Regions from separate parts of the Homo sapiens genome. Here regions 1, 3, 4, 5 and 6 are each linked to region 2. Evidence: promoter capture Hi-C in 16 types of primary human blood cells and fetal thymus (Javierre and others, 2016). All regions are on one chromosome and are shown on one strand. The core of a region is centred on a gene start or on the middle of the fragment in contact, and the rest is flanking DNA. Distances in the headings are between cores, read along the strand shown. Region 1 overlaps COL25A1 (collagen type XXV alpha 1 chain). Region 2 holds the start of COL25A1 (collagen type XXV alpha 1 chain). Region 3 overlaps COL25A1 (collagen type XXV alpha 1 chain). Region 4 overlaps COL25A1 (collagen type XXV alpha 1 chain). Region 5 overlaps COL25A1 (collagen type XXV alpha 1 chain). Region 6 overlaps COL25A1 (collagen type XXV alpha 1 chain).

Region 1 (4,514 bases), core at 1,296-3,795, 460 kb before region 2:
TGTGTCTGTCTTTCCTCACCTCTGTCGCAAAACTACTCTATCTCTTCCCAACATATGTGTTTGGGAGAGTGAATGACAACACTGTAAAGTTAATATATCTCAAAGCACCTGGTATTTTCCATCCATTCCACAGAGAGTAGTACAAAATACAAGCTGGCTGTTTAGAGGGATGTGTTCATGTTCTCTCTAGCAGCATGCTCATAAATAAGCAATTACATTTCAGAAAGAAGGGAAACTTACCATGGGGCCAGGTGGGCCATGGGGACCTGGTGGGCCTGGTGGGCCTATGATCTGTATGTCCAAAAAATAAAAATGTATTTGGTTACTTCATTTAGATAAGGCAGTTCAACTTGAATCTTGTGCTGGGGTTCTGCTAAGGCCATTAGTAGTTGGAGAGGAAGAAAGATACTAGAATAAGTGATGTGTTTGATTCTCTAGATGTAGAAATTCCCTTATGAGAATTAAAAAAAAAAATTCCAAAAAAAGTTCTCCAAAAGCCAGAATAAATGAAAACTATGTTAAAAGAAAAGGAAGCAACTAATTACCAAGAAATGCTATAATGTCACTACTATCAAACTCAAATATTTCACTAAGCATAAGCAGGGCTCTGGAGAAACAAACAAGTATGTTCTATATTCACAAAGATCTACCCATTGTTAGGAGAAAACCATTGATTTTTTTCCTCAGGATTAGACAGTCCTCTGAAAACCTGCTTCTACCTCAGACCTCTGATATACTTTGTGTATCACTGTGCAGGGCTGACGGATGTTTCTTCTACAGTTTGACAAACCAAGAGGTTTGAGGTCTGTCTACTGTTGTGCAGCCATCTGGCAGAGGTGGAATAGGTAAGTAACATGTCAGTGTGTGAGGAGGTTCAGGAACAATGGAAGTTCAGCCACCATGGACTTACAGAAGGACCCTGTGGACCCGGCATTCCAGAATCTCCTTTTTCTCCTTTCATTCCATTGGCTCCCTATAAATAACCATTAAGCAGAGTTAAGCAGGTAAAGTTATTTCCAGTGTAAGAGACAACTGAATTTTCTCCCCAAACCCATTGTTCTCTTGACATTTTATAATATTATGCACTTGCTACATAAAAGAAGGATTTATCTCCTTGAATTCTAGCTTAAAATAGCAAGCTTATTAAAATCCTTAGGATTATGGGTGATATGTAGAATAAAATATAAAGTAAATGAAAACTAGTTTGAGCTTGATTGGTTAAAGACCTACAGTGTTAAATACATTGAGTTATAAATGTTATATCTTTTATGGTGGTGCGCAATTTAAACAGCAAAGGTAAGGCTTTTAACTTAGTTTTTACTGACATTTATATACTTCCTTGTTTTACAGAAAAGTCTAAGGCAGTGGAGTTTACTGCATTTTTTAAAACAATTTTTACATTTTCTCCTCCAAATTCTCAGTTAGAATTACGGGGAAAACCATAAAACACCATCCCATAGTATCATACACACAGAGGACACTTTCCAGAGTAATTTGTTTTTTAATTCTCCTATATTTTTTGGCTCATTTCTTTATTATGGTTTATTTTACAATAACCAGTTACCACCATCTTATGCATACTAAATTAAAGTGGCCAACTATGTTTATTTTATTATCTTCTAGGGAAAACAATTCAGGAAAACATGAAGGCTTCCTTTATAATTCATTTGGTTACATGCCTTACAATTTGAGTTCCCTAGAGTAATTAACCAATAATACCTCAAATATTTCAAAATAAAAATATGAGATGAACCACTAGATGAGATTGCAGCTAATAATATAACTCTTTTCTGATTGTTTAATTTATCTTAATAAGAACATAATATAAAAAGTATAAACAAACAGAAAGTATAAACATACCGGTAATCCAGGAAGTCCAATTCCTCCTTTTTCACCTGTCATACCTGGGTCCCCCATGTCTCCCTTTGAGCCTTTGAGTCCCTAAAAATGATAGACAAGGTTGGCATGTAAGCAGCATAATGACCCCCGATAATTACATCCTAGGGAAAACAGAATTCCGATCAATTTCGTTAATAGGTGGGTTCAATGTTGAGATGATTCTGATTTTTGTTTTTAGGTAGAGTTATTTCTTACAGCAACCTTCTACATGCAATCAGTACTATTTCTCCTTGTAATGAAATAGATTAAGTTCTATTAGGCCATGTAAGCATAAAAAACATGAACTTAGGTTTTGACATAATTTCTCCTGATTTTGTATTTTTACCTGGCAGCTAATTCTATCTCACCAGACCTGAAAACAACTTAATAGACTTAATTCTCAACAATACAGGATGTATTTTGAACTGGGACCTAGTGTTATATAATAACAAATGTCCAAATTTCTCTCATCTCTACCCACTATACTCCCCTCCCTCCTAACTGCAGGCAGAAGTTCCAGTCACAATGAGTTTTCAATGGTCCAGTCTACAGACTGATAAATCACTGGATCATTTACCACACACTAACGCTCAATCAATGCTTAAAAGTATGACAACCTCTTCACAGTGTTCTTATTTTGTTCTCATGATGTCTCTATGAGATGAGTCAGAATGGTATTTTTATTCTCCTTTACAGTGAGGAAATAGATAAATATGCATTTTGAATGTTAACAAATCTGAATTTTGTAATTTTTTTTTTTTTTTTTTGAGTTGGAGTCTCACTCTGTCACCCAGGCTGGACCGCAATGGTGCGATCTTGGCTCACTGCAACCTCCGGCTCCTGGGTTCAAGCCATTCTCCTGCTTCAGCCTCCCAAGTAGCTGGGGCTACAAGCATGCGCCACCATGCCCAGGTAATTTTTGTATTTTTAGTAGAGACGAGGTTTCACCATGTTGGCCCGGCTGGTCTCAAACTCCTGACCTCAGGTGATCTGCTCACCTTGGCCTCCCAAAGTGCTGGGATTACAGGCGTGAGCCACCATGCCTGGCCTGAATTTTATAATATTAATATTGACATTAATTTATATTTTTAAGCATTTTCATCCTAGGAAACTCACTTCAATATACTAATGGCTCATTCTTCAGTAGAGATGATCATAGTTATTATGGTAAGGGGCTTCTAGGCTGCACAAACCTGTTTATCTTTTTTTTATTAAAACCGATGGAGAAAAATTATTTATGGAAAGGAACTTTTCTTGTTAACTGTTCCTATTTAATAGCATTCAGAATTACCCAATGGGTAAGTAGGTGCCTGAATGAATAGATGGATCTTACTGATTAATAAGACCTGGATTATTTTTAGGGATCTAGTGATGGCAGCAGGACGGCAACCCAATGTACTTAGTGATAGAAGAAGACCTTGCAAAGCCTACAGAAGAAAAAAAAAAGCTAGCTACTATATCTGTAGGAGCCATAATGTATATCATTATGCATGTCAAATTAATTGCTTATAATGACCAATGGTCAGAGAAGTAACATAGACAGACTTTAAAATTCTAAGTGATCTATGATATAGCAAATCATCTAAGGTATCTATGTTTCTGTTTACCACATGTTCATTTAATATGGCATTATTATTATTTCAGCATATAACTCTGATAGTAAAAATAATCCTAAACCTAATTTTCCTATCTAATACTTTCTTCTGAGGAGTATATGTGCACTAACTGTATTAAGAATCCTTTTGATTTCTTATGATTTTCCTGATTTTAGCCATTTCTTGGGTAAATAATGGAAATCAAGAAAACACTAAAGATCTTGAAATTAACCCTTTTGATTCCATTCCAAATTCTGAATACTGTCCACGTTCTCCAACTCAGATTCTTTTAGAGCAGGGGTCGCCAAACCATGGCTCACAGGCCAAATTCATCCCAGGGATTGTTTTTGTACAGAGTGAATTTAAAAAAAAATTGTTGAGGTGTTAACCAAAAATAAATAAATAAAAAGGAAACTTCAACACAGATTGTATGTGGCCTGTAAAGCCTAAAGCATTTACTATCTGGACCTTTATTAACAAAGCTTGCCGACTTCTGTTTTAGAGGGAACCCTCAGAGATACACTACCATACTCTGTCAAGCTACAAGTTCCCTGCTTGTTTCTGTATTTTCTAAGGATCTAGGGATTAGGTGTCATCTTTATTTGGGAAAAGAAAACATTGTCTAAAAAAGGCATATAGGCAAGATTTAGTTTTGTGGAAACTATGGTCACTGATTTTAATCTTGACATATTTGTATTCACTGACAAAAATTAGGCTAGTTTTACTAACTTGGTAATGATTTTACAAGTCTATTAAAAATTTGCAGGGGAGTCACTGGTAGGTTGATATAAAGTATTAAGAACAAAACTGAAGTATCATATGGCTTAGATGTTTTTGCGAAGAAAACTAATGTCTGCTTTTTAGAGTCAATGAAGTCTCTAGAACAAATGGTTAAAAGAAAGAGGGTATCAAATATCAATGCTCATGACATTTTGGCTTCAAACCTACAATAAAAGTAGTAATCAAGAATGATGCTTTAAATAATAGTATACATCTTTGAAAATTACCTGCTCTCCATCCATTCCTGGGATTCCTGGAGAT
Region 2 (4,466 bases), core at 874-3,373:
AAAATGCTCTGCTCTGGAGGAAACCTTGTTAAATAAGTTCCATTTTACCTGCTGGGCAGTTACATTCTGAAGGTGCTTCTCTTGCGATTCTTATTTTAGCCATATGTTCATAGGATTTCTGTAGGAAAAGAAGAGTTATTAATAATCATCAGTAGCACTGTAGAGGGATGGAGTCTTTAGGGACTCTGGCCATACGCCTGATTTACCGGCATTTCATAACCTGCATAACTAACATTTACATATGTACTTGGACTCTAGTCAAGAAAGTAACCATGCCTAAGTCCTAAAAAAAGAAAATGACCACTGATAGGGTATCAAGATTGCTGGACTTGTATAACATCTTTCTCCATTCTTCTCTACCACCACTCTCTCCCTCAGCTCAAGCATATGCAGTCAATGTAAAAACCTAGCACTAAAATGTTGCAGTATTAGGTAAGCTGTGGCTTACCAATAACAGCCAATATTTTATACATGAAGGTCAACTGCTTTATTTATCATGCTAGGCTGCAACTACTGCCAAATAGGCTCCCGGCTAGGGTAAGGTTCCAGAAAACCCCCTTACTCTAGTCTAAAGGTACCCTTACACATAACATAGATTCCTCTCAACTCTCAATTCCAAGGGCTCTGCATTCATAAATACCCCGGCACTGCATCCTTTACCAAAAATAAAGCTACTTTAAAAAAAAAAAGTTTAAACTTTTAATATGAAAAGATTCAACGTGTGAAATTATTGATTTTAAATTATATATGACATTATTTTACATTTAAGAGTGATTACCTTTTTTATATATTAATAACATCTATGACCCTAACCATCTTACAACATGTAAAAGATTTAACAGATGCTATCTCTGCAAGAAATATTCTCTCCACAATTGGGTTTGACTTAGGACAACTAAAAAGAGATAAAATGCCCTTTCCGAACCCTTTTAGACCTTCCTATGTGTTTAACACGCAAACATTAAGAGAGAGTGAGGGAAGATTAGAGATAGGGATGGGGACATCAAGGGATGTGCACATATAAATATATGCTACAGTGAGCATAGATCCTTGGCCAACACATGCACGCGCGCGCACACACACAGCCACACCAAGTATGGGTACAGTAAGGGTAGCGGCTAGTCATGCACACAGAGTCACGCTTGTACAAGATGTTACCCACGTGCAAAATACCCCAGCCTCTCACACCTGAGCCAGAAGTCGCTCCACTTTCTCTTGCACCATAGTCTTGAGGTGATCCAGGGTATCAGGCAGCAGATGAATGGAAGGGGCCCCTTTGGCGGATTCGAGAGCGGCGATCCTCGCCTGGAGGTCGTTGGTTTTCACACCCAGGTACAGGCAAGACACCACGGCCACCACTGACAGGAGGGCCGCCAGGACGGCACACGGGGGCATGGTCCGGGCACAATGCTGTTCGGCAGGGGTCGGGTCCTCGGATCTGGGCTCCCGGCCCCCTCCTTTCCCTGCGTGCTTCTTCAGCAGCATCGTGGCGGGGTCGGCCGTCTCGGCTTCGCTTCCCACCCTCTACACCTCAAATAATCCTAAAAGGAAAGAAAAAGGTCGATTCCTCCAAAGTTCAGTCCCTGTGGCTGCACAACTAGTTGGTGGAGTCAAGCCCACGAGCGGATACGGACCCCTGCCTTGCTCAGCGTCCAGACCCGCAGGCGTGCACCATCCCCGCTTTCTTCTCTCCTCCCAGCTGGAAGTGAAAAGCACCCTCCGTCCGGGGACTGGGTGGCGGTGGGGTAAAAAGCAAGACGAAACCCACCCAGACAGCTCTTCCGACTCCCAGAGGACCGACACCTCTTTCGAGGGCCCCAACAGTGGCCGCTCAGGGTCCGAGGGCAACGGCCGAGGCGCCACGCGGGGCCGCGGCTCGCCCTGGCCACGGAGGACCGGACCTGTTGCGCCTCTGTGAGTTTGCCTTATTTCTACCTACTCGGTGTCTTTCGGCACGCCGACCTGTTTCCCACCTGCATTCAGTTCAAGGCAAAAAGGCTGTGAGAGCACGCTACAGCGCAGCGCGAAAGGGGCGACTAAGGTGGAGAAGAGAGAGGAAAACGAAATAAACCCAAGGAACCAATGCTACTCGCGAAGCCGAAGTCGCGGCTGCCCGAAGGATCTCCGCAGCCCCGCGTGCGCGATCCTTAAATACCCTTCGCGATGCTCGCGTGAGTGTGTGTGTGAGTGTGTGAGTGCGCGCGCGCTCCGAGCACGACGTCCCTCCCCCGACCCCCTCCCGGCGCCCGGCGTCCGGCCTGCCGCTCCCGCTGCTGCGCGCCCCCCTTCCGAAGGCAAAGCAGGAGCCCGCCTTATTATCATAATGTATTCACCTTGGCCCAGCCCGCGGGCCGGCCCGGGGAACCCCCAAGGGAGGCGGGAAGCTTGGGTGGGAGCGGGGCAGGAGGTCTGTTATTAGCATAATGTATGCAAATAGCTGGAGCGGCCACCGTGATTGGAGAGGAGCCTGGCGACCCCTCCCCCTGCGCGGAGTAACTTCAGCATCTCCGAGGGCCACCTCTCTGGCCTGGGCCGGGGCCGAAGCGGGGTCGGCTGCGCAAGAGGCGGCAACTTTGGCTTATACTGACTCAGCCCAGCGCCCCCTTTTTATCCCACATAAAAATGGAGAAATGGCCTCCGGGAGGAAGATGTGAAGCGGCACGCTCTATCTCTACTGATCTTCACTCAAAAGCAGCCGCAGGAGCTGTTGCTATCTCGCTGTGGTGCAGCGCTTTTCCCTCCTCCCTCACTTTCCCACATGCCCAGAGGCAAAGTGTCTGGCCGACGTCTGAGGTACATTTCCCCACTTCCCTTCTCTTCCCACTGCAGCCCTCAGATTGTCCAACGAGGGGAAGTTTTCCTTCCCCTCCCCCAGTTTCCTTGTCTTGACGGCACTGAGTCTCCTCCCAGCTCTGTATTCCTAGTCTGTACTAGGGTGCTAATGTGTTTTCCTGATTCCCTGTTTTGCGGGATTGGAAAAGGGAGTGTTGAGGTATACACATTTCTCAGGATTTAGGAAAGGAATGAAGAATGAAGTCAGTTTTTCCTTTTACCTGACTCTTAATGCTGTTCTCTCTGGATCAAATTACAAGGTCTCTAATGGGATTTTGGAAAGTTGGTAACAAGTAGCATTTGACATCTAATTGACTTTGGGGAAAACAGAAATCCCACCTCTTATTCCAAAGAGTTCCTTCTTATCTCCCTATAAAAAAAAAAACCATATATTTTTCCTATTCTCCTTAATTAAGCTAACCTGAAGTCGTTGCTTACTATTGTAAACAGTCAACAAAATACTTCACTAAGTTGGTCTTTCACATGTGTAAACGGATATTGCTAGGTGTGAAGCAAGGTAAGGAAATAACAGCATTAGAGGAAGAAAGAGACTAACATTGGAGGAAAACTCAATGAATTTGGCTATAAAGTCAAAACCATAATTCATTTGTATTACACAGTGGTTCTCAAAGGATGGTCCTAGACCAATAACATCAGCATCACCTGAGAACTTGGACATTAAAATTCTAGGTTCCTACCACAGATCTGAATCAGAAACTGCTACTACCACTACTGAAATAATAATTTTAAAAAAAACAGCAATCTGTGTTTTAACAAGCCCTCCAAATGATTTTGATATATACTACTAAAGTTTGAGAACCACTGGTATAATACTTTCCAAAATATTTTCAAATACTTTTTGTATTTGAACCTCATAACCCTGCGATGTGAGGATTTACTGTTCCTCTTTTAAATATAAACAACGTTTTTAAATAAATTTTAAAACAGATAAATTTCAAGTCACATTTAATTGTGATTAAACATGTTTCCAATAACAGGACCCAAATAATGGGTACAAATATTTTAATGTACAAACTCTTTCTGTAACCTCTAGCTGTTCCTTAGTCTCATTTGCAGGCTTTTCCTCTTTCATTTCTCTGAAAGTTGGTGCTCCTTGGGTCTCTGTCTATTCCATCTTCTCTGTATACTCTCTCCAGTAGAGTTCCCATTACACTGATGAGTCATAAATTCATATCAAAAGCCCAAACCTCTCTCCTGAACCTCAGATCCATATAGCCAGTTGCCTCTTTGTCATCTCCGTTTGGATGTCTCACTCTCATTTCCAATGTAACCTGCAGCTTACCTCCAAATTCTGTCTGCTTCCTCTGTTTCCCATCTCAGCCAATGGAGTTGCCATCCATCCAGTCTCCCCAAGCCAAAATACCCAGTTGCCGGCCCTGACTTCTCCCTTGCCCTCCTCTCCTCATCTATTTAGAGTCCTTCAATAATTCTGGTTGTCCTTAGGACAAAGATCTTACATCTTTCAACCCCCACAACAAAGCCCCCTGTCTACCATCTCACTAGCCTCATTGCTCATTCTTCCTCTCAAACTCTCCACATCAGTTTCTCTGAAGTATGGAGACAATGAGAATAAAGAGCTTTTTCTTTTGGACAACATACCACTCTTAAAATTT
Region 3 (4,716 bases), core at 111-2,610, 490 kb before region 2:
CCGCCTCCCAGGTTCAAGTGATTCTCCTGCCTCAGCCTCCTGAATAGCTGGGATTACAGGTGCCTGCCACCACACCCAGCTAATTTTTTGTATTTTCAGTAGAGATGGGGTTTCACCATGTTGTCCAGGATGGTTTTGATCTCCTAACCTCGTGATCCACCCGCCTCAGCCTCCCAAAGTGCTGGGATTACAGACGTGAGCCACTGCACCCAGCCCATTAAATATTTATTAAGTGATTATTATACGCTACATTCTAATCATATACTGATGACTAATTTGATGGGAGGATGGTAAGAGGCAACTAAACGTAAGGTAACTTAATTCATCAAGATGGGAAATAGTGGAGGAAAATTAGGAGGGGAGGCCGGGCGCAGTGGCTCACGCCTGTAATCCCAGCACTTTGGGAGGCTGAGGCAGGTGGATCACGAGGTCAGGAGTTTGAGACCAGCCTGACCAACATGATGAAACCTTGTCTCTACTAAAAATACAAACATTAGCCTGTGTGGTGGCGGGCACGTGTAGTCCCAGCTACTCAGGAGGCTGAGGCAAGAGAAACGCTTGAACCCAGGAGGTGGAGCTTGAAGTGAGCCGAGATCGGTCCACTGCACTCCAGCCTGGGCAACACAGCGAGACTCCGTCTCAAAAAAAAAAAAAACAACAACAACAAACCAGAAAGTTCTAGTTTTAGAAAATCCCTATAGCTAGGTATGTTTACCAGGTTAAATGGTGGGGTTACAATATTGTAGAAGAGTAGAATAAAATTCTTTATGAATAATGTTTAAATCAAAGAAAAGAGGCCAAGGTTTTCATGAACATCAATAAAGCTTTATAACAATACAATTCATTATCATTGTTTGGATTAATATTGTAATAATTACACACTTTTTACATTATGAAAATAAGTCATAAATAGTGTAAAAATAATTCTGAAGATCAACTTCTCACAAACTAGGAACCCTGAAAACAAATTTAAAAAGCAAATAAAAACAAACTGGAAACTGAACACAATGCAATTATCTCCAAACCGCAAATCAAAAATCTTATGCATCTTTTGATACAGTAATGTCAGCTGGAGAAATTACAAGGAAATTAAAATAAAAATTGAACAGGGAGAATTCAATCTTTCAATTATTTACACTACTGAGATAAACAGGTTTGTGCCATATTTACAGTGATAAGACACAACACATTCTTAGAATAATCAATTGTATGAGACTGGCCCACAAACATTTAAAAAAATATGCAGTGTAATGCTTGCCAAAATATTTTTTTTTGCATATTTCACTTATTTTGTATTTATGTGAGTTTTTGGCAATATAAAAATAGCTGCACATAGAGATGAACTTTAAAATGTAAAAAATACAAATAAAAATATAATATTTTCTAAAGAAAAATCAGATACATACATCTTTTAAAATGTTATTAAGTTGAATGAAACATTTACAACAGTATAAAGAATATTCACATAAATGTCAACAGTATGTAAGACATTCTTTTGTGAATCCAATTCGTTAATATTTCTGAGATAGGTAAGAATATCAACTACATTTTGAGAGATGTTGGTACTTTCTTTGTTAAGTTGTTAATAAATCACACATAACGGTTTAGGTTGAAAAAGTCTTCTTATGCCCAAAAGGACGGTTCTTTCAATAAGCAGCATAGGCAATTTTATACATTTAAATATTTTGAAATGAAAAAAGTCATTAAAGTGTTTATTAGTACGGGGTTAGCAAAAACCAAACTCCACTAAAAATTTAAGTTAGAGGAGTGTCTCTGCTGTGTCAATTTTATATTGGCAACAAATCTAGCCAATATAAAGATATCCCAAGAAAAATGGGAAGAAGTAGGGACTGACAGTCCTCCTAGCCTAAAACAATTTAGCATAATCATAATTGGTCAAGCTTGTTAATTCCACTAGGGATGTATGATTTTAATAGCCAGAATCACATGTGATTGTTCTTACTTATTATTTTTAGAAAGATAAGATAGGGTTCCTAAGGACTTAACTTCCAAGAGATAGCAGGAGCTCTTGTTTTTACAAATTAGAAAATCCTATTTTTTTGTAGTGTGAAATATTAATATAATTTGATTATTAGGAAGTAAGAAAAAACAAGATTTCAAATATTAGCATCTGTATGTTGCTTATGATCACTTATTAGAAGATGTTAAAACACCACCAAAGTATAGCCCTACTCTGGGTAAGACAATATATAGTGGGGAAAGAAAGGATAACAAATGATGTTAACTTTTCATGCTTCAATAGTAACATTAAAAAAAAAAACCCTTGGAAATTAAGCACATTTCCTAAGTGAGAAAAATATAACATATCAAAGACAATTTTTCCATTGGTACTGACATGCTGATTTGACAATTTTCTAAACTAGCACATATGTCTATATAGATAGATAGTTAGACAAAGGACATGTAGTATAAACTAGTTGATGTGTAAGTTCTTGCTGTCCCATCAGAACATCGTATGCACAGAATGTAAATTCAAAAACAAGACCTTTCTTCTGGTAGGAATTAAAGATATTCTAATGTCCTCTATAAAATCACATGAGAAAAAAAAATCCTCCAAGACTGCTTTTGCTAATGAAAAACAAAAACTGAAAGAAAAAATTAGGTATATTTGTGCACTAGGTACTCTATACGGTGTGTGCAGACTTCTCTGATGCTAGTTTTGTCATGTTTCATCAAATCATATAAACTAAAAGACGAGTGAATGAAAAAGATGAGACACATGAAAGTAGATAAAGGCATATGATGTATGAAATGAATATGAAATAGGAGGATCCATGATCCGAGTAAACACACATCATCTATTGGTACACTGTTTTGTTTTACATTAAGAAAGCCTGGTCATTGGACCATAATTATAGCAAATTCATGAACTTTAAAAATAAAATAACACACTAATGATTTAGGAATGCTATTAAACAGGGAAATAAAATTATCCATAGTAGTTGTATTGTCCATAGAGAAAAAGGAAAAGAGATACATTAGCACCAACCAACATAAATGAAAAACAATTTTAAATCTAAAACACATATCAATTTGCTATCCTTCAATGTTTTATTAGAAATAGAAACTGACCTTGCCTTATTTCCAATGTGTCTTTCATGTATATTTTCTCAACCCTCTATCCAATAACACACATTAAAGAAATCTTTAAGGAAAGTATATTATCTATCAACACATATCAACAAACACAATTCTTTCATTCACTTAGAAATTATTTAAGAATTCTCTATATGACAAAATGGATGCTTGAAAACATTGTAGTAACCAAAAGTTAAAGATTATCCATCATGGTTAAGACCTAGCAATTCCACTGAACAAGGAGGAGTATTTCCATCCCTTTGTTTTTCCCAAGGAAATAAATGTAATGAAAGTTTACAACCTCATTTAATCATGAAATAAGTTGATGTTGTCAAATCAGTTATAGAGCAAAAACTCAATATACACACAGGACAGAATAGTATTCTTTGAAGGGCTGTATTTCAAAAAATTTTTTTATACATAAAGTGTTTTTCTTTTGATGTTGAGGTATCGTCTCCTGAAGCTGTGCAAGTTTTAAATAGTGATCCATTTCAATCCACCTCTTTCTACTAGAGGAGCAGAAAAAAAGATAGAAGGGAAAAAAATATAGCCACTGGACACTGTAGTTTGTTTTCCTGAAGAGAATGTAGTTCCACCCACTTCAGTTCATTTTTCCAAACCATTTAAGACAAATTGTGTCAGACATTGAGCAATACGTTATCCTAACACCATGCCATACAAGAAATTGTTAGAAAATGTCCTCCATTATTTTCAAAATGCTAAACTGGCTTAGGGGTGTGGAATGTTACCAGAAATGTTACCAATTAGACTGATCTAATAGTTTAAACATCTTTCAACCTTAAAAATTTAATAGAAAAAAAAGAAGATGCCATTTTGTATGACTGTCATTTGGTTACATAACATAAATGAGATCATGAGGATTTTAGGTTCCTTGTCTTATGGTTATATCTTAACTATAAGCCAAGGATGAGTTAATTTCCCTTCTGGTGGTGACACCTATGCATGAAACTAGAAATCTTCCCAGAAGATGGCATTGAGTCAGGAGAGAAATTAAATTCTCTAATGGGCTGAAAGGGTGCCTACTCCTCATTGATAATGTTTCTTTCAATGTAACACTTCCACTTAGAATAAGCCATTTCAAAACACGCTACCAACTCTTTACTGTGCAAAGAAATGTTCCATCTAATATGGTTAGGTAAAGTTTGAGCAAGTAGATGAAAAATATTTTCTTTATGGCAACTATATTTCACAGCTTTCTGAGATCTTAGATTTGGTCTGTGGATATGAGGATGAGACAAACATTTAGAAATGTTAAAAAGAGAAAGAAATCTAAATATAGACAAAACTTAAAACCATAAAAATAGAAATTAGTTAATATTACCAAATGTGACAAAATCTTGGCTTTATATTAACTGATAATCTCCATGTACGTTACATTCATCATGTAAAAAAAGTCAAAACTACTTAAAAATGCATAACTTTCATGCTTTACAATGATTAGACTGAAAGTGGAGCTTCTTTTATATTCTATCCAATTATCCAAAACAAGAGAGAAGTTAGTAAAAGGTCATTTTGACTACTGGAGCCAAATTATTATGATTTGAAGACTTCTTAAAAAAATTGTTCAAAACATATGTGACAAAAACTGAAACTAAT
Region 4 (5,046 bases), core at 828-3,327, 320 kb before region 2:
GCTTCGGACGCTCCGGCCCCGACTTGTGCACTTGGATTAACAGCAGGTGTTTTCTTCTGCTCTGACTGAAATCCCACTCTTCCTTCCGAATTGGACCCTCTTCACTGAAAATATGGGTTAAATTTGCAGAACAAAGTGGGCTACCTTAGTAAACACAGATAGTATAATATTTCCAAAATTTAGAAGCCATACTTCTTTTCTAAGTCAAAAAATTACAAATGAAAGAAAGGTTTATTTGAACATTACCCTTTAAAATTAAAATTGGGGTATTAATTTTTTTTTATCTTTAGCATTAAAAAAGCTAACTAGTATTAACTAAAGGATAGGCAGCAATAAAAATTAATGGCTATTTGAATTACAAATTATTTTTCAATGGCACATTGCTGTTTCCAACTAAACCAAGCTCAACAATCTAATATTTAGTAGACATATTTATTGTTCAGGTGACAGTATCAATGGCTGATTGGTAACTATTTGAAGATAAAACTTTGTTGCTCCAACAAGGTTAGGGTCAATGGAAAGGAAAGATGGTAAAATTAGCAGTCATAGGGAAGTGAACAGTGAGTCACAGCTCTATAGAAGGCCCTTTTGGGGACTCTTGTCCTGGTTTGGTCTAGAATCCAATAGTCAGATCTTTTATAAGCCCCACTTTAATAAATAAGTAGGAATATTTGATATGATCTTTTGAATTAGTTGTATGTAATTAATCCTAAAGTTAATTACATTAATAAGTACTTAAGGGTGCTAATAAAGTTTTTATTTATTAGTGTTGTTAGTAATTAGAAGATTTATTTTAGGGCATTGTTGGAATGTTATTAACTTCCTACACCAAAGGATTTCTAAATTTCTGTGGCAAACTTAAAATTAGCCCCTGTTCAAACGGCTTTACATTCAGAGTTTGCAAGAACCACCCTTCTATTTGTAAAAAGCCTTTAATGTGGGTTTTGGCCTATACCAATTTAAGTCTCCTCAAATCTACTTCCGTTTAAGTAACTAAGGTTTTAGCTTTTTTCCTATGCTCTATTGTCTATTTCAATTAAATGATAAAACCAAACTAAAAACAAAGAGAGGCACAATGAATGACATTCAGGAAAATATTGAATTTCAATCTACATAACAGCAATGGAAATACAGCTGGAAAAGAGAGATATATTCATAGGCCTGGAGTAACCCAATCATGGTTTTTTATTTACTGGAACTGTAAATTATATTTGCTTTGAACTGGAAAAAACTAAGGCAGGAATAGTTTTTAAAAGATGACAATCATGAAAACAAAATTAAATTCTGCTTGGGGTAGAAAAAAGTGGAAAAGGAGCAAATGCTGGGAATTCTTGGCAGCCCGAGTGCCTGGAATAAGAATGGGGTTATGACTTCTATCCCAGGAAAGAATAGATAAGTTTATTTTTATTCATGAAATATAACAAAACCTTTTCTGATTAATCTATTCATTGCTGTAGAAATATGAGGACAAGCAAGCTTCATTCTCTAAGAATTTCTGGCTCACTATCAGCCAGGCGATGTACTCTGAGTCTGGAGGAGGGACATGTAAATATAATCACAATCAGTGGACTAAATACTGTGTTGTGGGAGTACAGAGCAGAAAGAGGTGGGAGAGCTGGAGTTGAAAAGATGCTATTGGAACTGGCTCTTGAAAGATATCCAGGAGTAAGGCGATGGAAGATGGAGGGAGGAGGAGCGAAGCAGGCCCGGGGGGAAGGGATGCACATGCCCAGTTGTGAGAAAATACCACTCTGTCAGAGAAAGGAGTTCAGGGTGGTAAGAACATGTGGGGAGTGGAGATAGAAAATAGCAGGAAAGAGATTTTAAAAGGCTGGTTAACCACACTCAGGCGTTTGAGCTGGATTCTGTCATCAATGTAACAAGGAGTGCGGAGATGAAGTGTGCTCTGTTTTGTGGAACTCTGAGAACACGGGGTGTTCGGGATTCTTAGGAAGTATTTGCCTTGGTCCAAAAGAGAGATGGTAAAGCTTTGAATTAAGGTTGTGCTAGTGGAGGCACAGGGAGAGGTCTAGATTCAGGAGACATTTCTCAAGTAAAAAACAACAAGACTGGTTAACTGATTGGACATGGGGGCCACTGACAGGTGTCAACATGTTTTAACAAGTCCTACTTATTTCAAGGTTCACAATTTAGTGTATTTGCAGACAAGCTTTGGCCTAAGCTGGTTCAACGTAGATGAACACAGCAGTTCCACAGCCAAGTGAATCAAATAGAGTTTAAATCTGGTTTTAGTGTTATATTTCAAATCCACAGTGTTGGCAGCGTCGGCTGGCCTAATTGGAAATAGCTGAGGAGAGAGAAAACATTCTCTATCACCACCATTGAGCAGAAGCAGCACAGAGGTAGTCATAACTGCCTCCCCTCAGAAGCCACAATTCTTCCGTGTTAACTTCTGAATAGAGGAAACCTTTATCACATTTTCTTTCCTCTACTTTTTCAACTGTAAACTGAATATGGAATTACTCTATTTTAAACTCCACAAGTTTCCTACTCTTTTAAAGATAAAGAAGATAGTCTGCTGTACAAGCCGTCCTCTAGGAGCACAGCACAACCTCAATGGTCACCGCACGTCTGATGTGGATCTTCTTTCTGATGTGCTCAGGCACAAGCAAACATCGATGTTCACAATCTCACAGGGAGGAAGCGGAATATCCCGTTTTTCTCTTGTACAACTAGGATAGAAGCTTCAATTCTACTGCCTACTCCCTAAATTGCATGATGAACTTGACTCATAGTGCCAATGACACACATACTCAATCCCCACACTTACAAGGAAACTGAATTTGGTACCACAGTTTCTTAACAGGTCTCTAAAACTGCAGAAAACCACATTGCAAATAGTATTAACAATTGAAAATCTAGTGTTTTACTTGAAAAATAGGGATCCTAGGTATTTAGGTGAGGATACATCCACCCTACTTCTGAAAAAAAGTGTTTTATGTAGTACAGGTTTACCTCCAACTAGAATGTGAACATGTGTTCTTTCGAGTATTTACTTTCACCTTAAACTCATACATAGTTTTCTGTTTTACTGGCACACATTTTTTAGAGACATTTCTTCTTCAAACCACTAAGTTGTTTTATAGACTTTCAACTTTGCAAATAACGAACTACAAATGTGAAAATTTTAAAGTTAAAATAACTTTTTCTGAAAAAACTGATGTAAAATCATAGGAGTTCCCGTATGTAAGTATAGATAAATTGTGTGTGTGGATACTTGTGTTTAATATCTTTTTAAATGCTTCAGTAAAAAAGTTAAAAAAAAGTGAAAGTAGAATTTGAGAGTTACTTTAAAATGCAGTACATGAAATAACATATCTTGGCGGTTAAGAGCTCAAGTTTTGGAGTCAAACCGATGCAGATTGAAATCCTGGCTACAATCACCTGTGTGATCTTTAAATGGTTAATTAATCTCCTTGTTCCGCAATTTCTTAATCTTAAAATGGGGAAAATAATGCCCACTGTTTGGCTAAAATAAAATATTATACATGAAGCAATTTATAAAATGCCTGCCCTACCAATAATATAATAGTAATTATCAAGTACACACTTAATATTTTAATTATCATAAACATAAAATAAAATTTATTTTTCAGATACTTGACTTGAGGATAAAGAAATACAATCAACTTCCTGGCTAGGCACGGTGGCTCATGCAGCACTTTAGGAGGCTGAGGCAGGCAGATCACAAGGTCAGGAGTTCGAGACCAGCCTGACCAACATGGTGAAACCTCGTCTCTACTAAAAATACAAAAATTAGCCAGGCGTGGTGGCATGCGCCTGTAATCCCAGCTACTCAGGAGGCTGAGGCAGGAGAATCGCTTGAACCGAAGAGGCGGAGCTTGCAGTGAGCTGAGATCGTGCCACTGCACTCCAGCCTGGGCAACAGAGTGAGACTCTGTCTCAAAAAACACACACACACAAACAAAACAAAAAAGAAATACAATTGATTTCCTAAACCAAAAGAAAATGCCTTGGGAAATGTCCTGGGGGGACGGTGGAAATATTTCGAGAATAGGAAGGTCTAATATAGTCTACCTCTATCGTTAAGGAACTATTACCAAACAAAACAAATAAACTTGGTCGTAGTTTTAACCACATTACTTTTATGATTAAAATAGACTAAACGTCAGGCCCTAGAACCACCTAGTCACCCGTAGCATAGAGTAGGTGCCCAACCAGTTCTTGCTGAATTGAAAGGCCCAGAAAGAAAAGAATGCAATAAAACTCTGTGTTCAAAACAGCAACATATAAAGCATTATAGAAGAACCAGATTCAATGTTGCTGCAGAAGAACCGTGTTTATTATAGTGTCAAACTCTGCTAAGCCAGGGAAGGGAATTATAGCTATAAACAGATTTATAGCTTCAGACTTTACACCTTTCAGTGTGTACTGAAGATTAAAAGAGACCAAGCAGAGGGGGTGGGTATAAACAGAAACTTTTAAAATATCAAAACCAGCCTCACTTACTAGAAAACAAATTTTTATGGCTATTATTTTCTGGGCATTTTCCACAGTAAGATCATAACTATAAGGTTTTTTGTGATGTCCATCTGAGCCCTGAACAAGGGACTATATGTGCCCATGATCAGTCTTAAATCAAAAGCAGCTGCCATAAGGAAGCAATTAGTGGGTCTAGCACTAAAGAACATTTAGAAAAACCAAACATTAAAAAAGGACTCTCAAAAGTAAGACTGATGTAGCTCAATGGAGTTAAAGGCTTATAAAACAGCAGGAATCAGGGACGCTCTCTCTGGTTTTCTTTTCTAACACAATACAAATTAAATACAGTCAAATTACCGCTCCTGCCAATCAAAACGAAGGGAACCCTTCTACCTAGCATCATTCCTTGCCTCACATGTTTTAAGAAATTGCTAAAACTTCTTTGTTTAACTTTGATTTTTTTTTAACTTATTTTTAAGAGGTCAAATAAAATGAACTCCATGGTGAAAGACTTGGAATCCTAAACATTCCTTTTGTCGAAAGAAAGTATCAACTTGCTCTTTTAATGCCCTAGTAGCCCTG
Region 5 (4,464 bases), core at 903-3,402, 480 kb before region 2:
GCTGATGGTTCTGAGATAGAACTTCAACATCAACCTCATAAAATACACCAATATCTCTGTTTTAAAAATCTCTGTTGCTCTGAATCTGAAAGTGGCAAGTCCTAGTCCTGTGTAGTGAACTTACTGTAGTTTATCAGTCACACTGCTTCTCCTCCATTTTCATATAAAAAATATCAACGTACAAAACATATCTCCATTTCTCTACTGGGAAGTAGTGAAGACAAGTGAGATGCTGCCTTTGCAGGGTTCAATGAGCTCTGCCAAATACTACTGCAGATTTGTGTCATTTAATTTTACTTTTTAAAATGATTTTTTTTTCAAAAATCCTTTATTTTTCCATAAATTGGTGTCAGGTGGTTGAAAAACTGTAGCTAGAATATCTGGTGATAATAATTTTTTCTTCTATGCCAGGCAGTGCCCTTATATCTGGCAGTACAGCCTTCTTCATTCCTCTCTGAAGACCTGATTCCTTAAATCAGGCATCAGTATGTTTTTGGAGCACAGGATGGAGAAAGATTAAGTGTCAAATGGAATCACACAAGCTGAACAGCAAAGCAGACAGCAGGAGAAGAATCAAACAAGGTACATGCTGGGATGGAGAGGTCACCTTTTCTCCCTTTTCTCCTAGATCACCCTTCTCACCCCGTGGACCAGGGAAGCCCTGTAAGATAAAAAGCAAACCAAAAAGATCTATTGGTGTAATAGTGGCAAAATCATATAGAAACAAATATTTTAGGATTTTACATTTCTGAGCTTAAATATAACAAGAAATGGCTCACCAGTGTTAAGACTTAGATAATAAAGCAGTGCTTAGAAACATAAGTTTTCTAATGTCTCAATTATCTATACACAACAGGTTTCTTGCTTTTTCTTTTAAGAAATACAGAGTAGAAAGAATACCAGAATACTAGTTTGAATTCTGGCAAGTTCACTGATTTGTGCAGATTTGGGCAAATCACTTACCTCTCTGCACTTTAGTCCGTTGACTGTAAAATGGGGTTAATGATATCTACCAGACAGCTGTTGTGAATGTTAAATGTGATGATGTACTACAAAGTACCAGAATGATGCCTGCCCATAACAGGTGCTCATAAACAGTAACTAGTATTACTTTTGGTATTCTCATTATTCAGGTAATACAGGATGAGCAGTGATTGTGTCTAGAGGCATTTACTTTTGACATTCTCTATTTTCACAGAATCATATTAGCATAAGATATATAGGGACTAAATGTTAAAAGGAAAAAAATATTGCATAACTGCTTTGAGAAAAAAACATAATATATCATTCTGTAAGGATAGCATGTGAGAAGTATATTGATTTTATGCATATTTTTCATAAATAGGTCATGCTGATGTTAAGAGTACCCTCAATTTGGGAAAGTATTTTGAAGTGCCACTATCCACTACCAGTTATTAATTTTATACAAGATAATTGTGTTTTTTTGCTTTTCTGTTTTATCTCATGCAAACACTAGTGTATTTTATATTGCTGTTTACATGCACAGCAATATATGTTCTATGCATACCTATATGCACAGAAAAAAAAGAAGTATTCTTTTTGTTATCGATGATGGAGACCATCAACATCTATTATAATAGGATGATGTTTATTGTACTTATTACTTACATCAAGACCAGGCTCTCCATCTTTCCCCTGCCAAAGAACCATAGTAGCTACATTAGTGTTTCTAAGTTTTGTGAATAGATTATTGCTTTATTTAAGGCTGTCTGAACATGCAACACTAGTACTAGAACAACTACTTCAGAAATGTGAAAAAGATTCTCATTTGGATTAGTGACTGTTAGTGTTGCAGTTAAGGGTCATGAAAATTTTATATTATATATAGGGTTAAATAGATTAATATTTTGCTGATGTTTAAGCCTTGGTAGCTAAGTTATCAGTCCAGGAGTTAAATTAAAAGTAAAAAATACTGTTTAGTTGATTAGTGACTGTTAGTGTTGAAGTTAAGGGTCATGAAAATTTTATATGATATATTGGGTTAAATAGACTAATATTCTACTGATGTTTAAAGCTTGGTATCTAAGTTACCAGTCCAGGAGTTAAGTTAAAAGCAAAAATACTGTTTAGCTGATTTAAAAACATACCAGCACTAATAGAGGATGTGAATCAATGCTACTTTAATTTGATAACTTAGTAGTTAGCTCACAAATGAGTAAAGAATGTAGAAATACAGTTTTAATTTGGCTAGGATGTGCACACTGTGTACGAAGGATGTGAAGGCTGCAACTTAAAAGCTGTTTTTAAGTAAGCTTTGTAAATGAATAATCCCCAAATTTTTTTTAAAAGTTGTAAGACTGTTAGGCAAGAATGATAAATTCACTCCCATGGTGCAGATTATCATGGTGATGACCCTATTGTGTCATATTATGGATCCATCCAAAGTTCACGAGAGGTTACTTTGATTTCATCAATTAGATTTTGAAACCTATTTCAAAATCAGCATCTTTTTTTTGATTTAGCACTGAGGTAATCATGGTTTATGTTTATTATTTCAATTCATAAAGAGCATGTGTGAGATATGGAAAGGTTAAAACCCTTAATGCAACGTACGCTTCTACTGTCGTCCTACCCTATCTTAATGAATCAATTATAATTATTCCCAAGATGATATTTTTAAAGCAAACCAGAGGTCTCAATTTGAATTCTGTGTAATTAAGAATTTTCAGGCCGGGCGCAGTGTCTCACGCCTATAAATCGAGCACTTTGAGAGGCCGAGAAGGGCGGATCACTTGAGGTCAGGAGTTTGAGACCAGCGTGGCCAACATAGTGAAACCCCATCTCTACTAAAAATACAAAAATTAGCTGGGCATGGTGGCACACATCTGTAATCCCAGCTACTTGGGAGGCTGAGGCAGGAGAATCACTTGAACCCAGGAGGTGGAGGTTGCAGTGAGCCAAGATCATGCCACTGCACTCCAGCCTAGGCAAAAGAGCAAGACTCCATCTCAAATGATAATAATAATAAGAAGAGAAGAATTTTCAGAAGACAGAGCACTATCAGTGTTCTATGTTCTGCAGATCATTTGTCATCACGGTAATTTAGAAAGTCAGAAACATCAAGTCGTCATAAATATCAATGTAATTGGGGGAATAATTTTTACTAGCAAGAGTCATTTTAGTAAATAGTCTATAGGAACAGATAAAGTCTGAAGAAGGCTGTTTTCAGTGAAGCTTCCACAGCCATTTTTGGATCCAGTGATTTTCCAAGGAAGTGCCAGTTATGAGTGTCCAGTCAGATGATGTAGGGAGGGCATCTTCTGACAGTTAGGATCCTGTTCTCGAGTTAATACTTTATTCTAGAGACAGTCTCTGATCCTGTCAATCTCGTGAAGTGCCTGGATATGTGTCTGTACATGATGAGAGGGCAAGAGACTGAATATGACCTATTTGTGAAGGACATGGAAGTACTGAATTTATAGATAATGAGTGGATTGTTGTTTCTTCTCTAACATTAGTCTGCCCCACAAGCGAAGGGTTAACCGTGTCAGTGACTGGTCATCTATGCATGCGGAAGGTGGGGAGGTGCATGTGACCAGGAACTCACAGGCAGCCCATAGGGCCCTCTTGGTCCAGGCTCTCCCATAGCTCCTTTTTCACCCTAAAATGAAAAGTAGAAAGTTCAAATCATACACACCCACCTACATTCACACACTTTCTCTCATGCCCTATGTCTAAAGCCTCTATTTCAAGGACCATTCTATGAAAATCTCAAAGATTTAGCCTCTTGCAGAGTCACTGCCAGTGATATTTGGAAAGTAATCCACAGTAGCATCTTTTACTAAATCACCTTTGAAAGAGGGGCAGCACAAGATTGCTGCTGGCCAGCTGTGCAAAAGCATTTGCATATCTCAGATGTCATACTTAGGTTTCTTTGGCATTAGTGTGAAACATTTATTTGTTACTAATTATTTTGTTAGCACCTTTAAATGTAAGAATAAAGTGTCTTTCTTTTTTGAGACAGGGTCTCCCTCTTTCATCCAGGCTGGAGTGCAGTGGCATGATCATGGCTCACTGAAACCTTAAACTACTGGGCCTAAGTGATCCTCCCACCTCGACCTCCTGAGTAGCTGGGACTACAGGCAAGCACCACTATGCCCAGGTAGTTTTTAAATTATTTGTAGAGATTACTATGTTGTCCAGGCTGGTCTTGAACTCTGGGGCCTCAAGCAATCCTCCCACCTTGGACTCCCAAAGTGTTGGGATTACAGGCTTGAACTACAGTGTGTGGCCTGAAATACCTTTCCTTCTATCAAAAAACAATTATTCAGGGAAACCCTTTCTCGATTGCCCACTTCCTACCCCCAGCTATATTTTATTTCACAGCCCTTAGACACCAGAAGACCCATAAAGCTTATGACCTGCTTATTCTCTGCTACCCTCACTAGAATATACACAGGAGGGTTCTGGGGCCTCTAGCTTTGTTGTTCCCTATAGCATCCT
Region 6 (4,593 bases), core at 1,191-3,690, 400 kb before region 2:
AAACACTTATCTGTCTTCCAATGCCTTATTTGGGCACTTAAAGCCTTCTTAATTCTGTCTCTGCTCAAAGCTCCACGCAAACAAAGGCTTTCTCCTGACAGTTCCCTGAATATGCCATGGGCCTTACCAATTCTGAGGCCTTCTTCATATCATTCCTGTCACCTGGATCCCTCCCCTCTCTTTCCCTTTCCATCTGTATAAATCCTGTCCTGTCTTCAAGCATATCTCAAAATCTCCAGGGCCTCAAAGTACAGGACAGGGCCCTCAAAACCTGTGGACTGAATATTGATTTATCTGGGCCTACATGGTTTGCATTTGTGAAATGAATGTTTTATGCTTTACTAGAAAAATTTTTTAAATCATAGTTTATGCTTTTTTTGTTGTTATTTTTGAGACTTCCTATGCCTGTTCCCTCACTGACATCTCTTTTCTGCCTACAAAGCAATGCATTAGGGAAATAAGCATTCGTTTATTATCTTCCTTAAATTCTGAATTCTTCAATATAAGTCTTACAATATGTTATGTGGAAATGTTATGGACTTTGGAGCCAGGGAGACAGACCAGTTCCAGCACCTACTGGGCAAATGAGATTCTCTTTGCATCAGGTTTCTCCTGTGCAATGTAATAGAAAGGATAATTTACACAGTTATAAGAAATAAGTACTACACTGTGTGTAAAGCAACTAGGGCAGTATCTGGCACATCATAAGCTATTAATGATAACAATGCATTACTATTCACATATTCCATAGGCTGGAATGCAGTCACTTTTCTATTACTCAAAAAGTTTCTTAAAATAGGACAGAAACTATTGATCATAACTTTCTTGGGAGGGGGGAGAAAGGAAGTTGGGAAGGCAGACTTTCACTTTTTTCCTCTGTATTTTGTTTTATTCTTTCAAATAAGCATGAAGTTAGTCTGCCTGGGCATTTGTTTATGGTGACAAATACACTGCGGCAGGCCACAAGAGCCTGGGACACTTTCTCTGATGAACGCCTGGTATGGTGCTGATACTGCTCCTTTTCCCTCCTAATTTCTACACAAAAGAGTCACCCAGTGACTAATTAATTTCAGGTTAATTACCATGAACTGATTGGATGCTAAATAAATGTCCTAGTAATGTGTTATGAGGGATCTTTGATAGGCAGTTGATTTGCATGCTTTTTATAAAATTGCACAAAAATCCCTCTATTACAGAACAAAACAAACAAACCAACCTTCTTAGTAGGGAAACTGGCTCAGAGTAATTGCAAAGTGAAGGGTTTAACTGAGCTGTCCCCTCAGGAAACTGCCCTTTCCACCCACGTATTTTGCTCCCCCTCCATTAAATAAATGGTTTTTTTTCTTTACAATGTTGAAAAATACAGTTATAATTAAGAATTTTTCTTGATCTTTACATAAACTTCTTTTGGGATGAGAGGTTATAATACTGATTTGTCAGAAAGACCATATCACTTACAAAGAGCATGATGTAGTAACTTGGTAGTTTCCTACTCAGCATATTTTTCAAACACTATTAAAATAAGTAGCATGAGAACCAGGAAAATAAGTATCGTAATATGCAATCAGAGCCTAAAAATAATCAGGACAGGCCCAAGTAAGAAAAAGAGTCTAGGAGTAACTTAACACTCTGCTCTTCCTGTTTCTCTTTTTGGTTTTTATGGGAATTCTTTGTGGGCAACCTTCAGATAATTGCTGCAGGTAAACATCTGTATCCCTTTAACCTAGTGACATTAGAAGCAGTAGAGAGAGATGTGGGTGCTTGGAGAAGCATTAGAATGGCATTAGCAAGTAGGCAGACCAGATTTTGCAGGCCTAAGGATTTTTGAAACCCGTTTAAAAGCTTAAAAGCCTGACACAGAATGTTTAAATTTGCTCCCTTTCTCTTCATTATTAAATATTTGTTCTGAAGGTACATCGGCACCTTTCTCTTTATTTTTTAAAACTTTTTTTAACCCAAATTTTTGTCTATACATAAGAATCACACTATTTCCTCCTTCCACTAATTAACAGTTTGAAAAAACACAGGAGTCATATCTATATCTATATATCTATATATCTATATATCTATATACCTACCTACCTACCTATTAATCTACCCACCCACCCATCCATCCACCCATCCATTCATGCATATAGTTTAGTTTGAGTACTTCTTTGGTATGCTGGTGGTGGGGAGTAGGGAGAGAGAAATACAGGCAGAATCATTCTTACCTTTTCACCTTGTTCTCCAGGTTCTCCCTGAGCAAAAAGACAGAGATTGGGTGACATCAAATCATAAAACACCTAATTTTATTATCATTATTAAACAAAACAGATATTGAACTTACTAGGTAAATTATGCATGACATTTTCTATTTTGGCTACATGCAGTTGCTATATGAAAACAAATGATAAAATGAGTTTCCTGGAGAATTTGAGTATGAATATCAATTATCAAATGTAATCTTAATTTTTTGCTTTTATAGCACTAAATAAATGTTTTTGAAGATTATCATCCAGAAACTGGCTTTTGGAGCACTAAGGAGAATGATGGTGTGGCAATTCAATATCTTGAGAGGCTTCTTAGCCTACAATTTTTCATTCTGCTTAAACTCAGAGTTAATCAGGTGGACTAGCATGTTTTTCTGAAAATCCTTTTATTCAAAGTGTTCCCCGGTTCATAGATCATTTCCAGGGTCTAGGGTGCCAGGGTAGTTACCCAATCTGTCTTGCCCTAACATGATCATAAATAGTCCTAATCTTGAACCCCTTACAATGTCATAAACTCTCTTTAGCTTCTGGTAAAGAGCATGTTCCAGATCAGGTCTATTTTAGGAGGCACCTTAAGGAAAGACACTAGAATGGGGCAGAATTGAAGTGAGTTTAGGAATGATGTCCTTATTCAAAATGATGACCTGGATAGCATGAGGACTAAAATGCAAAATGGTGCCCTGAAGAGAATCTCATTTTCACTTTACCCAGGAAAGGACAGAGGTTGGAGCAGGAGAGTAGGAGTCCTAAAGTAAATCATATACATTATGAAAATAGTTTCCTATGAAAAGCTTGAGTGAATGTTGCCATAAGATCAGACTGCTTTGGAAAAAAAATGAAATAAGGCAATTATTGTATTTTTTTAAATTTATAACCCACTGCAGAAGTCAGTTTGGAAGCAAGACTCTTTTCTCTGGAACTCAACCTGACCCTTTGGCTTTCTGCATTTCTGGTCACCTTCACTGCTCAACACCCATCCTGATGGTCGCTAGGCAACACCAGAATAGCACTGTGAACATGCATTAAGCATTAACTCCCATTGTTTGGCTTTTTAGCATGGAGAAAGAGAGAGAAGAAGACAGGAAAACAGCTAGAGTCCCAGAAGGAATATTTTCTTTCCTCTCCTGCAGGACAAAGAACAGGTCTATAAATTTCAGGTCTGTCCTAGGCGCCTGTCAATAGCAAATGATCTGTAAAATCAGCTGACAGGCATCTGTGGGTACGAATACACACCAGCACAGCTGATGGGATTAAACATTAGTTTTGTACTTCAAGGGATGTTCACTCATCAAAGGATTTGGGATTTGGCTGCCTGCTTGATTTAAACTAAATTGTCCCCAATCTTTTTATATTTAACTGATTCAATTTTTTTAAGAAACAAAGAAGACTTGGAATAAAAAAATCTTCATTACATTTTTTCCCTATTTGGTAATTCAGACTACATCCATTTTTAAATTTTAAACATCTTTATTCTGCCTTCATCTGATTAACTGGTTATGTTGTGTAAGAGCTGGAGGTGGCCAAATCTTGGGGAAAAGCCATAGTGAATGTCATCTTTAGTAAGGCATGTAAATATAAAAATTTTAGGCAATATGGACATGACCTATGTTTTTATATACCCACTAAGTGGTAAAATGACAACAGCCATATTGGAAACATAGGCCTATTCATGTTATTTAAGTATCTCAGAATAAAGATGTTAGATGATCACATCCCATTTATTTTTCTGCATTTAATACTAATGAGAATCACAAATATAATTAATTCATTAGTAACAAAGTTCTATACTATAGCATATTATACTATTCACAAAATACCCATGTAAGTGCAACTGGTGAGATTGTTAAAAATTGTATTAAATAATAGCTTACAATTTCCTGACAATTCGTGTGTCAAATGATTCTGCTTGGCTTTATTTGTACTAACCTTAGGTCCTGGTATTCCATTCTGTCCTACTGCTCCAGGCAACCCGGGCTCACCCTCAAAATAGAAAAATAGATACTACTAAGTAAAATAGACAAAATCAATACATTACATGGATCATTAGAGGAGACAGCCATCTAATAATTCTCTAGAAATAGATAAAGAATAAGTGACTATTAGTTTAAATTCAAGTTAGCTTCCATGGTCCAAAACGCTGCATGTAATGGAGCAAGGATACAATGGGGTTAATTTCCTTTGTTCAGTCTTCTCATCATTAAGAAAACTGAGGCAACTTACCAGTGGAAATTAACATCTAGCATGTTGCTGGGTACATTGTGAACATCAAATAAATATTTTCTGAATGAGTAAAAGACAACTGAAAATATAAGACTCTCCTGGCAAAAAACTTTTAAGTGAT

The links. Contacts are between HindIII fragments. The CHiCAGO score rates a contact against its expected background, and 5 or more counts as called.
Region 1: a contact is called between a fragment that was not itself captured here and the fragment with the promoter of COL25A1 in region 2, in 7 of 17 cell types (endothelial precursors, megakaryocytes, M1 macrophages and 4 more). The highest score is 12.6, in endothelial precursors.
Region 3: a fragment that was not itself captured here is called in contact with the fragment with the promoter of COL25A1 in region 2 in 1 of 17 cell types (erythroblasts); the score reaches 6.4 in erythroblasts.
Region 4: a fragment that was not itself captured here is called in contact with the fragment with the promoter of COL25A1 in region 2 in 1 of 17 cell types (megakaryocytes); the score reaches 5.6 in megakaryocytes.
Region 5: a contact is called between a fragment that was not itself captured here and the fragment with the promoter of COL25A1 in region 2, in 7 of 17 cell types (megakaryocytes, endothelial precursors, fetal thymus and 4 more). The highest score is 14.2, in megakaryocytes.
Region 6: a fragment that was not itself captured here is called in contact with the fragment with the promoter of COL25A1 in region 2 in 1 of 17 cell types (megakaryocytes); the score reaches 5.3 in megakaryocytes.

The regions. Positions count from the first base shown.
Region 1 is chr4:108,844,279-108,848,792 of GRCh38, forward strand. COL25A1 (collagen type XXV alpha 1 chain) reads right to left here. Exons shown (of 38, transcript NM_198721.4): 27 at 4,481-4,514; 28 at 1,861-1,941; 29 at 911-973; 30 at 241-291. Among named protein-coding and RNA genes, the nearest start is that of ETNPPL, 83 kb to the left of the region's middle. The HindIII fragment of the contact is 2,816 bases long and covers 1,138-3,953 here.
Region 2 is chr4:109,300,535-109,305,000 of GRCh38, forward strand. It overlaps COL25A1 (collagen type XXV alpha 1 chain), which reads right to left and starts at 2,124. Exons shown (of 38, transcript NM_198721.4): 1 at 1,635-2,124; 2 at 1,189-1,541; 3 at 49-118. The coding sequence starts at 1,485. COL25A1-DT (COL25A1 divergent transcript) reads left to right here and starts at 2,501. Exons shown (of 3, transcript NR_160939.1): 1 at 2,501-2,793. RefSeq lists an enhancer at 2,196-2,978. The HindIII fragment of the contact is 6,447 bases long and covers 1-2,382 here.
Region 3 is chr4:108,807,922-108,812,637 of GRCh38, forward strand. COL25A1 (collagen type XXV alpha 1 chain) reads right to left here. Exons shown (of 38, transcript NM_198721.4): 38 at 804-4,716. Among named protein-coding and RNA genes, the nearest start is that of ETNPPL, 47 kb to the left of the region's middle. The HindIII fragment of the contact is 1,077 bases long and covers 823-1,899 here.
Region 4 is chr4:108,978,268-108,983,313 of GRCh38, forward strand. All of the region lies in intron 6 of COL25A1 (collagen type XXV alpha 1 chain), which reads right to left. Among named protein-coding and RNA genes, the nearest start is that of ETNPPL, 220 kb to the left of the region's middle. The HindIII fragment of the contact is 182 bases long and covers 1,987-2,168 here.
Region 5 is chr4:108,823,567-108,828,030 of GRCh38, forward strand. It overlaps COL25A1 (collagen type XXV alpha 1 chain), which reads right to left. Exons shown (of 38, transcript NM_198721.4): 33 at 3,569-3,622; 34 at 1,630-1,656; 35 at 608-661. Among named protein-coding and RNA genes, the nearest start is that of ETNPPL, 63 kb to the left of the region's middle. The HindIII fragment of the contact is 238 bases long and covers 2,034-2,271 here.
Region 6 is chr4:108,896,941-108,901,533 of GRCh38, forward strand. COL25A1 (collagen type XXV alpha 1 chain) reads right to left here. Exons shown (of 38, transcript NM_198721.4): 14 at 4,179-4,232; 15 at 2,214-2,240. Among named protein-coding and RNA genes, the nearest start is that of ETNPPL, 140 kb to the left of the region's middle. The HindIII fragment of the contact is 1,201 bases long and covers 1,841-3,041 here.